Linked DNA regions of Homo sapiens: region 2 is linked to region 1. Evidence: promoter capture Hi-C in human tissues and cell types (Jung and others, 2019). All regions are on one chromosome and are shown on one strand. The core of a region is centred on a gene start or on the middle of the fragment in contact, and the rest is flanking DNA. Distances in the headings are between cores, read along the strand shown.

What was found. Contacts are between HindIII fragments. The study calls those that stand out against the background at their distance.
Region 2: a fragment that was not itself captured here is called in contact with the fragment with the promoter of IFIT5 in region 1 in 3 of the 25 tissues and cell types used here (aorta, hippocampus and spleen).

Annotation. Positions count from the first base shown.
Region 1 is chr10:89,410,151-89,417,073 of GRCh38, forward strand. It overlaps IFIT5 (interferon induced protein with tetratricopeptide repeats 5), which reads left to right and starts at 4,418. Exons shown (of 2, transcript NM_012420.3): 1 at 4,418-4,653. The coding sequence starts at 4,649. It also overlaps a transcript of LIPA not described here. RefSeq lists enhancers at 4,275-4,584, 5,195-5,294, 5,395-5,464. The HindIII fragment of the contact is 7,296 bases long and covers 1,314-6,923 here.
Region 2 is chr10:89,526,722-89,533,644 of GRCh38, forward strand. All of the region lies in intron 2 of SLC16A12 (solute carrier family 16 member 12), which reads right to left. Among named protein-coding and RNA genes, the nearest start is that of SLC16A12, 5.4 kb to the right of the region's middle. The HindIII fragment of the contact is 4,199 bases long and covers 2,732-6,923 here.

The DNA of each region.
Region 1 (6,923 bases), core at 3,168-5,667:
GCAGTGGCCATCTTAGTGTCAGAGGCTATCAAAATAATATAAGGAAAGGGTCTCACTGTCTGGATACTCATGATGTAAATGGCATACTAGGTGCCAAAGGAAGTTTATGGCTATCAGACAACTGCCTACTTAGATACCAGGTGCTACTCCTTGAGGGACCAGTGCTTCAAATACCTATATGCGTGGCCCTCAACCCTGCCACTTTTCTCCCAGAGGTTGGGGAACCAATTGAGCATGACTGCCAACAAATTAGTCCAGACTTATGCTGCCCGAGATGATCCCTTAGAAGTCCCCTTAGCTAATCCTGACCTTAACCTATATACCGATGGAAGTTCATTTATGGAGAATGGGATACAAAGGACAGATTATGCCATATTTAGCGATGTAACCATACTTGAAAGTAAGCCTCTTCCCCCAGGGACCAGCACCCAGTTAGGAGAACTAGTGGCACTTACCCGAGCCTTAGAACTGGGAAAGGAAAAAGCAATAAATGTGTATACAGAGAGCAACCATGCTTATCTAATCCTACATGCCCATGCTGCAATATGGAAAGAAAGGGAGTTCCTAACCTCTGGGGGAACCCCCATTAAATAACACAGGGAAACCACGGAGTTATTGCACGCGGTGCAAAAACCCAAGGAGGTGGCAGTCTTACACTGCTGAAGCCATCAAAAGGTGAAGGAGAGGGAAGAACAGCAGCATAAGCCACTGGCAGAGGCAGGGAAACACCAGCAGAAAGGAAAGCAAGAAAGAGACAGAAAGTCAGAGAGAGAGAGACAGAGAGAGGAAGAGAGAGACGAAGAAGTCAAAGAGAGAGATAGAAGTAGTAAAGAAAAAACAGTGTACCCTATTCCTTTAAAAGCCAGGGTAAATTTAAAACCTATAATTGATAACTGAAGGTCTTCTCAGAAACCCTATAACACTCCAATACCACCTTGCTGTCAGTGTAAACAAGGGCGTAGCCTGAAAGCACTGAGGCCACTGACAACCAGTAGCCTTCCTATCAAAAATCCTTACCCAGCAGGTTTCCTAACAGGGGATCTAAATCTTAATTAATTCCCATACAAAGGTCTGACCAGATCTAGGAGGAACTCCCTTCAGGACAGGACGGATAGATGGTTCCTCCTGGGCAATTAAGGAAAAAAAAAACACAATGGGTATTCAGTAAATAATAAGGAAACTCTTGTAGAAGCAGTGTTAGGAAAATTGCCTAATAATTGGTCTGCTCAAATGTGTCAGCTGTTTGCACTCAGCCAAACCTTAAAATACTTACAGAATCAGGAAGGAGCCATCTATACCAATTCTAAGTTAATATGGACTGAACGAGGTCTTACTAATAGCAAAGAATAATTGAAATCCCAAACTTACAAGGTTTTCAACTAACGTAAAGTTTGCTAAAAGTTAACAGTGTAACATGCATTATCCTACTACCATACACTCTCAAAGGATTTCTCAGACAGTTTGCATGAAATAATGAAATCTATCCTTACTCTACAATCCCAAACAGACTCTTTGGCAGCAGCGACTCTCCAAAATCGCCAAGGCCTAGACCTCCTCACTGCTGAGAAAGGAGGACTGTGCAGCTTCTTAGGGGAAGAGTGTTGTTTTTACACTAACCAGTCAGGGATAGCACGAGATGCCACCCGGTGTTTACAGGAAAAGGCTTCTGAAATCAGACAACACCTTTCAAACTCTTATACCAACCTCTGGAGTTGGGCAACATGGCTTCTCCCCTTTCTAGGTCCTGTGGCAGCCATCTTGCTGTTACTTGTCTTTGGGCCCTGTGTTTTTAACCTTCTTGTCAAATTTGTTTCCTCTAGAATTGAGGCCCTCAAGCTACAGATGGTCTTACAAATGGAACCCCAAATGAGTTCAACTAACAACTTCTACCGAGGACCCCTGGACTGACCTGCTGGCCCTTCCACTGGCCTAAAGAGTTCCCCTCTGGAGGACACTACACCTACAGGGCCCCTTCTTCGCCCCTATCCAGCAGAAAGTAGCTAGAGCAGTCATCAGCCAAATTCCCATCAGCAATTGGGGTGTCCTGTTTAGAGGGGGGATTGAGAGGTGAAGCTGGCTGGGCTTCTGGGTCAGGTGGGGACTCAGAGAACTTTTCTGTCTAGCTAAAGGATTGTAAACGCACCAATCAGCACTCTGTGTGTAGCTAAAAGTTTGTAAACGCACCAATCAGCACTCTGTCAAAATGGACCAATCAGCACTCTGTAAAATGGACCAATCAGCACTCTGTAAAATGGACCAATCAGCACTTTGTAAAGTGGACCAATCAGCTCTCTGTAAAATGGACCAATCAGCAGGATATGGGTGGAGCCAAATAAGGGAATAAAAGCAGGCCACCCCAGCCAGCAGCGGCAACCTGCTCGGGTCTGCTTCCACGTCGTGGAAGTTTTGTTCTTTCGCTCTTCGCAACGAATCTTGCTGCTGCTCACTCTTTGGGTCCACACTGCCTTTATGAGCTGTAACACTCACCACAAAGGTCTACGGCTTTACTCCTGAAGTCAGTGAAACCACGAACCCACCGGGAGGAACGAACAACTCCGGACGCGCCACCTTTAAGATCTGTAACACTCACTGTGAAGGTCTGCAGCTGCACTCCTGAAGTCAGCAAGACCACGAACTCACCAGAAGGAAGAAACTCCAGACACATCTGAACATCGAAAGGAACAAACTCCAGACACGCCATCTTTAACAACTGTAGCACTCACAGCGAGAGTCCGCAGCTTCATTCTTGAAGTCACCAAGACCAAAAACCTACTGGAAGGAACCAATTCCGGACACACCATCACCTACGTATTAAGCTCAGCATCACTTAGCTATACTTCTTGATGCTCTCCCTCCCACCACCCCCAACTCCAACAAGCCCCAGTGTGTGTTGTTCCCCACTGTGTCCGTGTGTTCTCATCATTTAGCTCCCACTTACAAGTGAGAACATGCAGTGTTTGGTTTCTGTTCCTGCATTAGTTTGCTGAGGATAATCACTGGAAATACTTGCTCTGTATTTAGAGTTCATAAAATTTGCAACTTATAAAAAGCAGATTCGTATACCTAAGTTATTCCAAATGTAAGTTTTCTATTAACTTATCAGTTTTTAAATTTATATTAAATTAAAAATCAGGTTCTTAATAGCCACAGGTGACCAGCAGTTTCTGTATAAGACAGTACAACTGTTAGAAGTGATTGCTTTAAATGAGGCACTCGCTTCAGGCACTAAGTTTTGAGGGGTGGGGTGCCAGAAGCTCAGTGATCAAGGTAGACAATATTTCAATGCAATATGTTTTTAAAAATTCAAAATCAGGCCAAGCATAGTGGCTCATGCCTGTAATCCCAGCATTTTGGGAGGCCACGATGGGCGGAACAATATTTAAGGTTTAGAAAAATATTTGTGCCCAGGTGTTGGAGACCAGCCTGGGCAACATGGCAAAACCCCGCCTCTACAAAAAATAAATTAATTAGCCCGACATAGTGGTGCACGCATATAGTCCCAGCCACTCAGGAGGCTGAGGTGGGAGGATCGCTTGAGCCATGAAGGTTGAGGCTGCAGTGAGCTGTCATCTCACCACTGCACTCCAACCTGAGTGACAGAGTGAGACCCTGTCTCAAAAAAAAAAAAAAAACCAAAATCAATGCAAAAGATGAATTATGGACAGGATATTGAGGTTTTGAATACAGACATTAACTCAATAAGGGTAAGGCCCGTGTCTGTTTTCTTTATTGTTATATTGACAGTACTTTGAACAAAGTCTGGCTCTTACAGTTGTTTGTCAATATTTGCTGAATGAATTCAAAGGGGACAAAATGTTTAAGGTATGGGTGTTTGACATTTTCTGCCTAGATCCCCAATACCACTCTTGTCTTTATTGGGTCCTTATTACAAAGCACCATTGGCGAAGGTATGGAAGAGAAGCAGTCTCCTACAATTGTGGGTAAGAGTGGATTTTTAAAGCTATTTGGCAATATCCGTCAAAACTTAAAATGTATATAGATTTTAGCTCCAAATTTCTCAGTTTACACCCAACAGAAATAACAGCATAGATGTATAGCATTGCAGTGTTGCTTGTTGAATCAAAAGACTGGAGTGGAAGCAGGGACTTAAGTTTCCGCCTGTAATCCCAGCACCTTGGGAGGCAGAGGCGGGCGCATCCCTTGAGATCACGACTGGGTGACACAGTGAGACGCTATCTCAAACAAACAAACAAACAAACAAACAGTTACACGGGCAGCATGCGAACTCAGCGTACTCAGGGAGGCAGATAAAAGCCGAGACCAAAGTGAAGGAGCCCAGCTGCAAATTCAACTCCGAAAGACCCTGGACTCCGCAAACGTCTGGCCGCGGCTCTTGAGCTCTTCTATTAAGTTTCGGTTTCTGAAGCTTACGTTTAGTTTCGATTTCTTAAGTTTCAGTTTCTGAGCGCTCGGCATCTGATTCAATCTCCAGTTTCCTGTTCTTGCTGGGGCTGGGGTCTCTCCTTTAACAAAGACACGCCGCGCGGCCGAGTCCAGGGGCTGCAGAGGCCTGGCGCGCGCACGCGCACGCGCACGCCCACCGCGCGGCTTCCCGCGGTCCCCGGTGCTGAGGAGAGAGCGATCCGAGGGACTGCGCCGCCCGGACGGCCTGCAGAGCGCTGCCATCATGAGGTAAGGGTTTTCCTTTGCCTCTCCTCCCAAGCCCTGCGTCGGCCTTGGTTTCAAACCGGGCTGCTTTTATTCATTTCCAGCGCAGTTCTGCGGCCTTTTCAGGGGCCGAGCCCCTCGCGCCCAGCAACCGGGCATCTGCGTTGGGGACCCTCCCCGGGCGCTCTGTCCCGGCGCGCGGCGTCTGAAGTCGGGCCTGCCGGGGAGGGTGGCCGAGTGGACGCTTCTCGGGAGTCCGGCCCCTCCCCAGCGCCTAAGAAGGCCGGTCAGGGAGGAGGAACAGGAGATGCTCCCCGGGAGCCTGTCCCATCCCTGGCGTCTGCGGTCGGGACTGTCAGGGTATGTGCCGGGCGACGCTCCCCCGGAAGGCCTGTCCACCCATCGCGACCCGACGGCTCTTCTCGGCAGCGGCGACGGTGACCGTGCTGGGTCCGCGGCCGCCGCCTCCGGGAAACTGGTCAGCGCCTGCAGAGCCCCCAGGCGCTGTTCCGGGGGCAGCTGCTACGTGCCACGGGTCTCCTTAGGCCTGTCGCGTGCCTCTCTTTCCAGCTGCCATTCCCTCGGTGTGGCATACGCGGTTTCGCCGCAGCCCTGCAGGCGTCAGGTTCGCCTGCCACTGCCAGTTTGCGTTTCTGATTTCTGGGTCTGAGTTCTTCCCTTCCCAGGAGCTACCTCTGTACCAAGCACAGATTGTTATCGTCCCACCCAATCCGCTGTTTTATGAGGATTTCTTTATCTGTTTCCTTTACTGATTTAGTATGATGGCGTCCTTTTCTTGATCATTTTGTATCCCCAGGGGCTAGCACCCCGCCCTGCACGTGGTTAGTGAACCTTCCGCATTTAATGAGTTGAGGAATGAGATGTTAAGGTCTTGGGCTCTAAAAGCAGATAGTCCCTTGTTCTAAATCCGGACTGAACTCCTACTAGTTGAGTGATCCCAAAGTTTCTCAAACTCTGTGAGTCTGTTCCTTATTTGTAAAAATTAATGGTGTCCATCTCTTGGGACTGTGGAAAAGGACAGTAATAAATCCTATCAGTTGACTGCTTAGCACATAATACTTGCACAATAAATGTTAATTATTCCCATTATAAGTTTAAAAAAAAAGTTTAAGTGCCACCCACACATCTAACTTTATTTTTGAGACGGAGTCTCGCCCTGTCACCCAGGCTGTAGTGTAATGGCTCCATCTCGGCTCACTGCAACCTCCGCCTCCCGGGTTCAAGCCATTCCCCTGCCTCAGCTTCCCGTGTAGCTGGGATTACAGGCGTGTGCCACCACGCCTGGCTAATTTTTTGTATCTTTAGTAGAGACGCGGGTTTCACCATGTTGACCGGGCTGGTCTCGAATTCCTGACCTCGTGGTCCACCCGCCTCAGCCTCCCAAAGTGCTGGGATTACAGGCGTGAGCCACAACGCCTGGCCACATCTAACATTTGTAAGAAAGGAGAGTGCTATCAGGAAGGGGCTTGACAACAACAACAACAACAAAACAACAACAACAACAAAAAACAGAAAAAGACGGTGGCGTGCACCGTATATATGCAGGATGGGGAGGAAAAGGGCTCAGCCCCATTGGGGACTGTCTCCCAAGGACAATGAAAGTCTGCTTCTTCCTAGCAGAAGAACAGAATTACCGAAAGATACGTGTTACCTCTTCTGATGCAATAGCTTCTCTCTTATTAGCTTCCCAAAGACAAAGTTACAAAATTAAGTAGACAAAGTTTAAACAATAAAAATTCTCATGGTGTCCAGTTGTGCATAAATTCCAGAGCCTGGACAAACCACGTCAGTACCTGATTGAATGTCCCTTTGAGATCTTACAACCAAATCCATAATACCTGAGCAGCCCTCCTCATCCTCCTTGGGCTGGGCTGGTAGAGACCTTCAAAACAGGTGTTTGTTTTAGGCAGGGGGCTGGTAAAGCCATGTTGTTGTGGATTTAAGCAGGCTGTAAGGACATGGCATGTCTTGCCCATATTTTTGGTACAATTACACTAGAGAAAGGAACAATTACCAAGGAGCAATTTTACCAGGTTTCCTAGTCAGGATCAGTACTCATAATACAAAAATGGAATTTTCATATTAATTATTGAATATGTATATATTCATTCCTAATTTTCAATGGTTTAGTGATTGCCAAAAGGAAATAGATACATGTAATACAGAAAGCTCTGTCATCTCTCCAGAACTGTTTTTGCAATAAATAGTGAGAATTTAAATGAAATATTTCTAGGACATAACTGTATATAGAAGAAACTCTAGTATAAAGTTAT
Region 2 (6,923 bases), core at 3,581-6,080, 120 kb after region 1:
GAAAGGAGCCCAAAGGTGGAAGCTGGACATCGGTCCGCCACCCATTGCCCTCATGCCCTGTAACACAGCTCCAGAGGTGCTCCCTGATACTCCCAGGAATGTGCAAAATACAGTTTAAAATCTACTGGCCAAAATCCATTAAGAAATCAAGAACAGAACACCTACTCAGATAGCAGAAGGGGCCACCAGAAAGGAGCCCAAAGCTGGAAGCTGGACATCGGTCTGCCACCCATTGCCCTCATGCCCTGTAACACAGCTCCAGAGGTGCTCCCTGATACTCCCAGGAATTTGCAAAATACAGTTTAAAATCTACTGGCCAAAATCCATTAAGATTTTTATTCGTGGATAAAAATTTATTTATTTTTATTACAAAATCAACAGTTAAAGTGTAATTTGGGGAAGCTAACTGGTAACAGTGGGTGAGAATCTCCATGAGCATTAAAACCAAATAAGAACAAATTAAAAAAAATAAGGGGCTGAGTAGGGCGTGGTGGCTCATGCCTGTAATCCCAGCACTTTGGGAGGCCGAGGTGGGCAGATCACTTGAGGTCAGAAGTTTGAGACCAGCCTGACCAACGTGGTGAAACCCCGTCTCTACTAAAAATACAAAAATTAGCCGGGTGTGGTGGCAGGTGCCTGTAATCCCAGCTACTCAGGAGGCTGAGGCAGGAGAATCGCTTGAACCCAGGAGGCAGAGGTTGCAGCAAGCCGAGATCATGCCATTGCACTCCAGTCTGGGTGAAAGAGTGAGACTCCACCTCAAAAAAAAAATAATAAAACTAAAAAAATAAGGGGCTGGCATGGTAGCTTACATCTATAATCTCAGCACTTTGGGAGGCTGAGGAGAGAGGATTGCTTGAGCTCAGGAGTTTAAGTCCAGCCTGGAAAAACATAGTAAGACTCCATTTCCATTTCTACAAAAAAAAAAAAAATTATTTATCTGGGCATGGTGGTGCCCACCTGTAGTTCCAGCTACTTTGGAGGCTGAAGCAGGACTGCCTGAGCCTAGTAGTTCAAGGCTGCAATGAACCATCATTGCACCACTGCACTCCAGCCTGGGTGACAGTGAGACCCCATCTCTTAAAAAAAAAAAGAGAGAGAGAGAGAGAGAAAAGAAAAAAAGAGGTGAATTCTAAGTAGGAGTAGTCTACTAGATAAATCTTCAGAATCTGTATCAGTCACCTCACCACATTTTCTCAAAAACAATAAATCCTAATGACAAGGAAAGCTCTAAAATTAATCATACTTTGTTGAAGTCACATAGGGCAAGGTTTAAACTCCTATCTTTCTTACGTAAGAGTCCTATATAATATCTTTCTTATATAAAAGTCTGGCCAGGCATGGTGGCTCATGCCTGTAGTCCTAGCAACTTGGGAGGTTGAGATGGGAGGATTGCTTGAGCCTGGGAGGTCGAGGCTGCAGTGGGCCCTGATAAGGCCACTGCACTCCAGCCTGGGTGACAAAGAGAGACCCTGTCCCAAGATAACCCTTTTTATTTAATTTGATGCAATTGAATAAAAACAGAAAGTTTTCAGAGAAAGTTTGAGTATTAAGGTTGACAACTCAATCAATTTAAAGAAACACATAATAAAGGACACATCTGTAAGTATTTTAGAGGAAACACATTATTGTTGTAGAGTAAAAGGCCAAATTATTGTCCTAAACAAAAATACCCATATGGTACCACAATCATCAAAAACTTGAAAATAGTTGGTTAATTAATTCATTGGTTGACAGTAATTATATCAATTGTGTTGATTTGGTTGTTTTGACATCTTATACACATAAGCCTAGTGAATTCCACAGAGAAGAAAAAAAATCACTGAACATTCATTCAACCATTGGGAAAAGCTTTCCATATAATGAATGGGCCCTCTATAGAGAAAATGCACACACAAAAAATTTCCATTATATGTTAAGAATATACCACACATGAAATTTTATGTTTCAATAAAATTTTTTTCTAAAGAGGCACAAAATTATTATTACATATGTCCATAGTTTCTCAACCCTGGCTGTACATGAGATTCACCAGAGAGATTTAAAAACTATCAATACCCTAGCCCTGTATCTCAGACCTACGGAATCAGAATTTTTCAGAGTAGGACATTGGTACCAGTTTTTTTCCTTCCTCAGGTGATTCTAATGTGTAGGTGGGGTTGAGAACCATTGATACAGAGTCTTCAATCAACTGATTTATGGATACTAGGTTGTCAGGTGTCAACCTGAACAGACCATTTATTTTTTATATCATTTATGCCTGTGAGTTTGGGCTACCCCTATTCATAACTATTTAATAATGATGATTAAGGCTGGTTTTTGATAGTTGTCTGGTTGAACTATCACTGCCTGAAGAAGCAGCATTCTGTTCTCCCTTATGAGATTTAACTTTGTCGTGAGTTTTTATTTTTTTGGTGGTTCCTTCGGGGGCTATGAATGTGGTTGCTTTGAAGTTACAGGTTCAGAGAGCTGAAATTTCTGTTTCAAGAAATACATCTGGTTTCAGTAGATAAATATGAACTCACTCCCATGGAAAGTATTCCATCAAGCAAAGTGGAATCCCAAAATAAGTAATTATGGCCCTAATTTATAATATGTCAAATAAACCACAAAATGATTAATTGTGCTCAGGAATATTTTGAAAAAAACATAGTCTACAAATGATTTGGGTGATAATTTTTAAGTATTGGTATAGTTAACACTTTATGTAGCTACTTTGTTTACATATATGAACCACCGAGCCAGAAGACGGTGTTAGGGGGAAACAGTTGCTGATTTTTATGGTGATTCAGAAGTTGGGAAACTGAGTCCCAATTTCCTTTACAGTCTTTTTTTTTTTTTTTTTTGAGACAGTCTCTCTCTGTTGCCCAGGCTGGAGTGCAGTGGCACAATCTCGGCTCACTGCAACCTACACCTCCCAGGTTCAAGCCATCCTCCTGCCTCAGCCCCCCTAGTAGCTGGGATTACAGGCACGTGCCACCACGCCCAGCTAATTTTTGTATTTTTAGTAGAGACGGGGTTTCGCCATGTTGGCCACGCTAGTCTCGAACTCCTGACCTCAGGTGATCCACCCGCCTCAACCTCCCAAAGTGCTGGAATTACAGGCATGAGCCACTGCACCCGGCCTCCTTTACAGTCTTAAGTGACTAATGCTATATCTATAAGAGGCTCATAGACATGGAATTTCTCTCTAGATACAGAAATGAGTTATTTTCAAAATATACAGGGTACCCTCAGAAATGGAAACATTAGAAGCTCTCAGCAGTAAAGTAATCAGAAGTCAGGAAAAGCAGAGTCAAAAAGTTGATACAACATATTTTGAACATTTTGTTTCAATTCCTTTCATAAACAAAAAATTCATTCACTAATCTTTGGATATTGGGTCATGATTGGAGTTCTATGTTATTTTTCTTGGTTAATCCACATCCAGATTTCCTGCTTCCATTTCTTAAAGAGGATCAGGACCTTATTGGAGCTTGTGAAAAAACCTGAATGCAAAATCATTCTAGAAATTTTTACTGTACTCTTCAAATCTCTTATCACTATGCCACACCTAAGTACTCATCCCTCTTCCTTTTGTAATTTGCTTGTTCATGTTGCTTTTTAAAAAGCTTTATAGTCCTTTTATAAATTGAGATAAAATTCACATAAACTTCACTATTTTAATACTTTTAAAATGTAAAATTTGGTGGTTTTTTTTTTTCTTTTTTTTCTGAGACGGAGTCTCGCTCTGTTGCCCAGGCTGGAGTGCAGTGGCGGGATCTTGGCTCACTGCAAGCTCCGCCTCCTGGGTTCATGCCATTCTCCTGCCTCAGCCTCCCGAGTAGCTGGGACTACAGGCGCCTACCACCACGCCCGGCTAATTTTTTGTACTTTAGTACTAGAGACGGGGTTTCACCGTGTTAGCCAGGATGCTCTCGATCTCCCGACCTTGTGATTTGCCCGCCCCGGCCTCCCAAAGTGCTGGGATTACAGGTGTGAGCCACGGCGCCCGGCTGGTGGTTTTCATATATTTACAATGTTGTGCAACCACCACCCCATTATCTAATTCCAGAACATAGCCGTCACCCCAAAAAGGAACCTTGCATCCATCATCAGTCACTCTCTATTTCCCCTACCCCACTTCCCTGGCAATCACTAATCCACTTTTTGTTCATATGCATTTGCTTATTATGGACATTTCATATAAATCATACAACATGTGGTCTTTGTATCTGGCTTCTTTCACTTAGCATAATGTTTTCAAGGTTCATCCATGTCGCAGCATGTGTTGATATATTTTTTTTAACATTACTTACTTTTATGGGTCCATATAGCGATCAACTTAGTTTTCACAGAAATACCATTCTTTGTTTAGCATTCATATTACATCGGTTTAGGCAATATTTCATTAAATCACAAAATTACAATAGCATCCTGGCACTTTGGGAGGCCAAGGCAGGCAGATCACCTGAGGTCAGGAGTTCGAGACCAGCCTTGCCAACATGGTGATATCCTGTCTCTACTAAAAAAAAAAAAAGTACAAAAATTAGCCAGGCATGGTGGTGGATGCCTGTAATCCCAGCTACTCAGGAGGCTGAGGTGGGAAAATTACTTGAACCAGGGAGGCGGATGTTGCAGTGAGTCGAAATACACCACTGCACTCCAGCCTGGGTGACAGAGCAAGGCTCTGTCTCAAAGAAAAAAACAAAAATACAATAGCAAAGTACAACTGGCATAAACTGGACTGTAACCAAACACCGCTGTAAGCATGCACCTGACCTAGTAACAGCCAAGTATACAAATTTATTAAGATGATAGCTATTTCCCACAGCGGTCTCTGTGTCTGAGCAACCACCAGGATGTGGTTCAGAGGAGGAGAGCATTGGTTAATCCAATGAGTTGTTTCAGTGTTGGGCAGTATTTCATTAAGCAGAACAGAGTCACATGCATGTAGAGGGGCAGAGAGGTGATAAGTGTCTATTATATGACCCAACACAGCCTCAACTGGTTCCCAAGAGGAAGTTCTCTACGTGTCTTCAAAAAGAGGCAAGGATGTGCTGCCATAAAGATAGGTATATCCTCTGCCTCTATAAAAGCTTTACCGTGCTTTACCATCTTTCAAGAAGCAACTCCAATGGGCCCTCCTCTACAAAGTCTTCCCTAACCCTCAAATCTTCACAGTGCCTGCCTGCTCTCTCTTCTTCCTTTTAATTCCCAAAGTACTTATGCATCTCTTATGGTAGTTTGAATCGGTATGATAGCTAGCCATACAATGTCCTCTCTTCCATACCAGGATGTAAGCTGCATCAGAGGCATGTTCTGTGTCTTTACACGTCCTGCTGTCACCAGCACCAGAAAAGAGATGCTCAAAACACAGTCTTCACACAAATCCTTATACAAATCTTTTAATAAGAAGTAGAAGTTCAATAAATATTCATTAAATTAATAAATGAATGAGCACACTAATTAAATAATTAATTAATTTCATGCAACATCTTACCTGGCTACAGCAATTAACCCTACTCGTCAATGCGCGGTAAATGAAGGAAGGATATGTATCTGATGGGGCACAGTGGTGGGTGAATGAAGAAAAAAAAATCAGCTACTCCAGGTGCCTAGCATGCATCAGAAATTGTGACTGTTCCCCAAATGTTCAACAGACACCACCTTCAAACAGGACATTGTTAGATAATGACACTTTCTGATGTCCTTTGATGTAGAGCACATTAAAAATATTATCAGAGGGAAAATCTTTCTGTTCAAAATCCCCCAACCTCTTCAACTGTGTATTTAGTTTTCATCAATTAAATTATTATATCATTTCAATGGGTGACTTTTTATATACACTGGAAAGGTACTCATAAGAAAATAGCTTCCAAATTGGCAATTTTTAAAAGCAAAGCAACTGGTTAGGTGAGGAATGCATAAACAACCCCAAAAGCGGCACTGAATACTTTTCTTTGGCTGTATACGACTGAAAAACTGCCAAGTTCATTTCGATAAGCCTTTGTTAAAAACAATAAACATGCCTGAGCTTGCAAACTATGCTGTTTTGAAGAAAAAGCAATTGAGAGAATTAGAAAATGCTTAAAACTGGAATGTCTAATAGTCTATGAATATGGAGGAAAGTGGGGGACAAAATGTAAAGTGAGACAAAATAACAACAGAACACCATCTTCATAAATAAATAAAAAGCAACATCTTATAAACTAATTTAATTAGTCTCCAATACTAACATGGTACCACTAACACTCTTAAGAAAACAAATCATCCCGTGCTTCAAGTTTAGTCACCAAGGTGATCTCCCTGCAATAAAGGAAATGTAATTTCATTGACTCCAAATGAACATATATTAAATAACCAAATGTGGGAACTGCAATTCACTTACAGTAAAATGTCAGCTCATAAAAGTCAAAGTAACTTCACCTGAATTTGTTTTTTTGTTGTTGTTGTTGTCGTTTTTAGTTTTTTTTTTTTCCATGATTATAAGATTCTCAGAATTGCAGGATTGGAAGGAAGATAGTTTGGATCACTTATGTTTATTTTCCTGCTTAGGTAAAACTGAAATTCTCTTGTACCTGCCTAAGAAATCCTGGAAAAATTCTAGTGAATAAATTGCAACTTGAGCTCTATAGGATCAAAGTTCTTTGTTTTGTTCATTGACATATCCCAAATGCCCAGAACAGCACTAGGCATACAGTAGGCACTCAATAAATATCTGCTCAATTGAACTAAATTGAAAAATATGCAGTGCAATGCAATGTTAAATAAGTCACTTTGAAACTCCTTTCTTAGCTTTGTTTTGGTCATAGTATTAATCACAATAAACAAACAGTCCTCATATAAAACACTTCAACACTATAATTCATGTTTTTACTTCTGATCGATCATTACCATAGAGGGTGCTGAGAATCAGAAAAGACTCCAAGGAAAGATGGGGG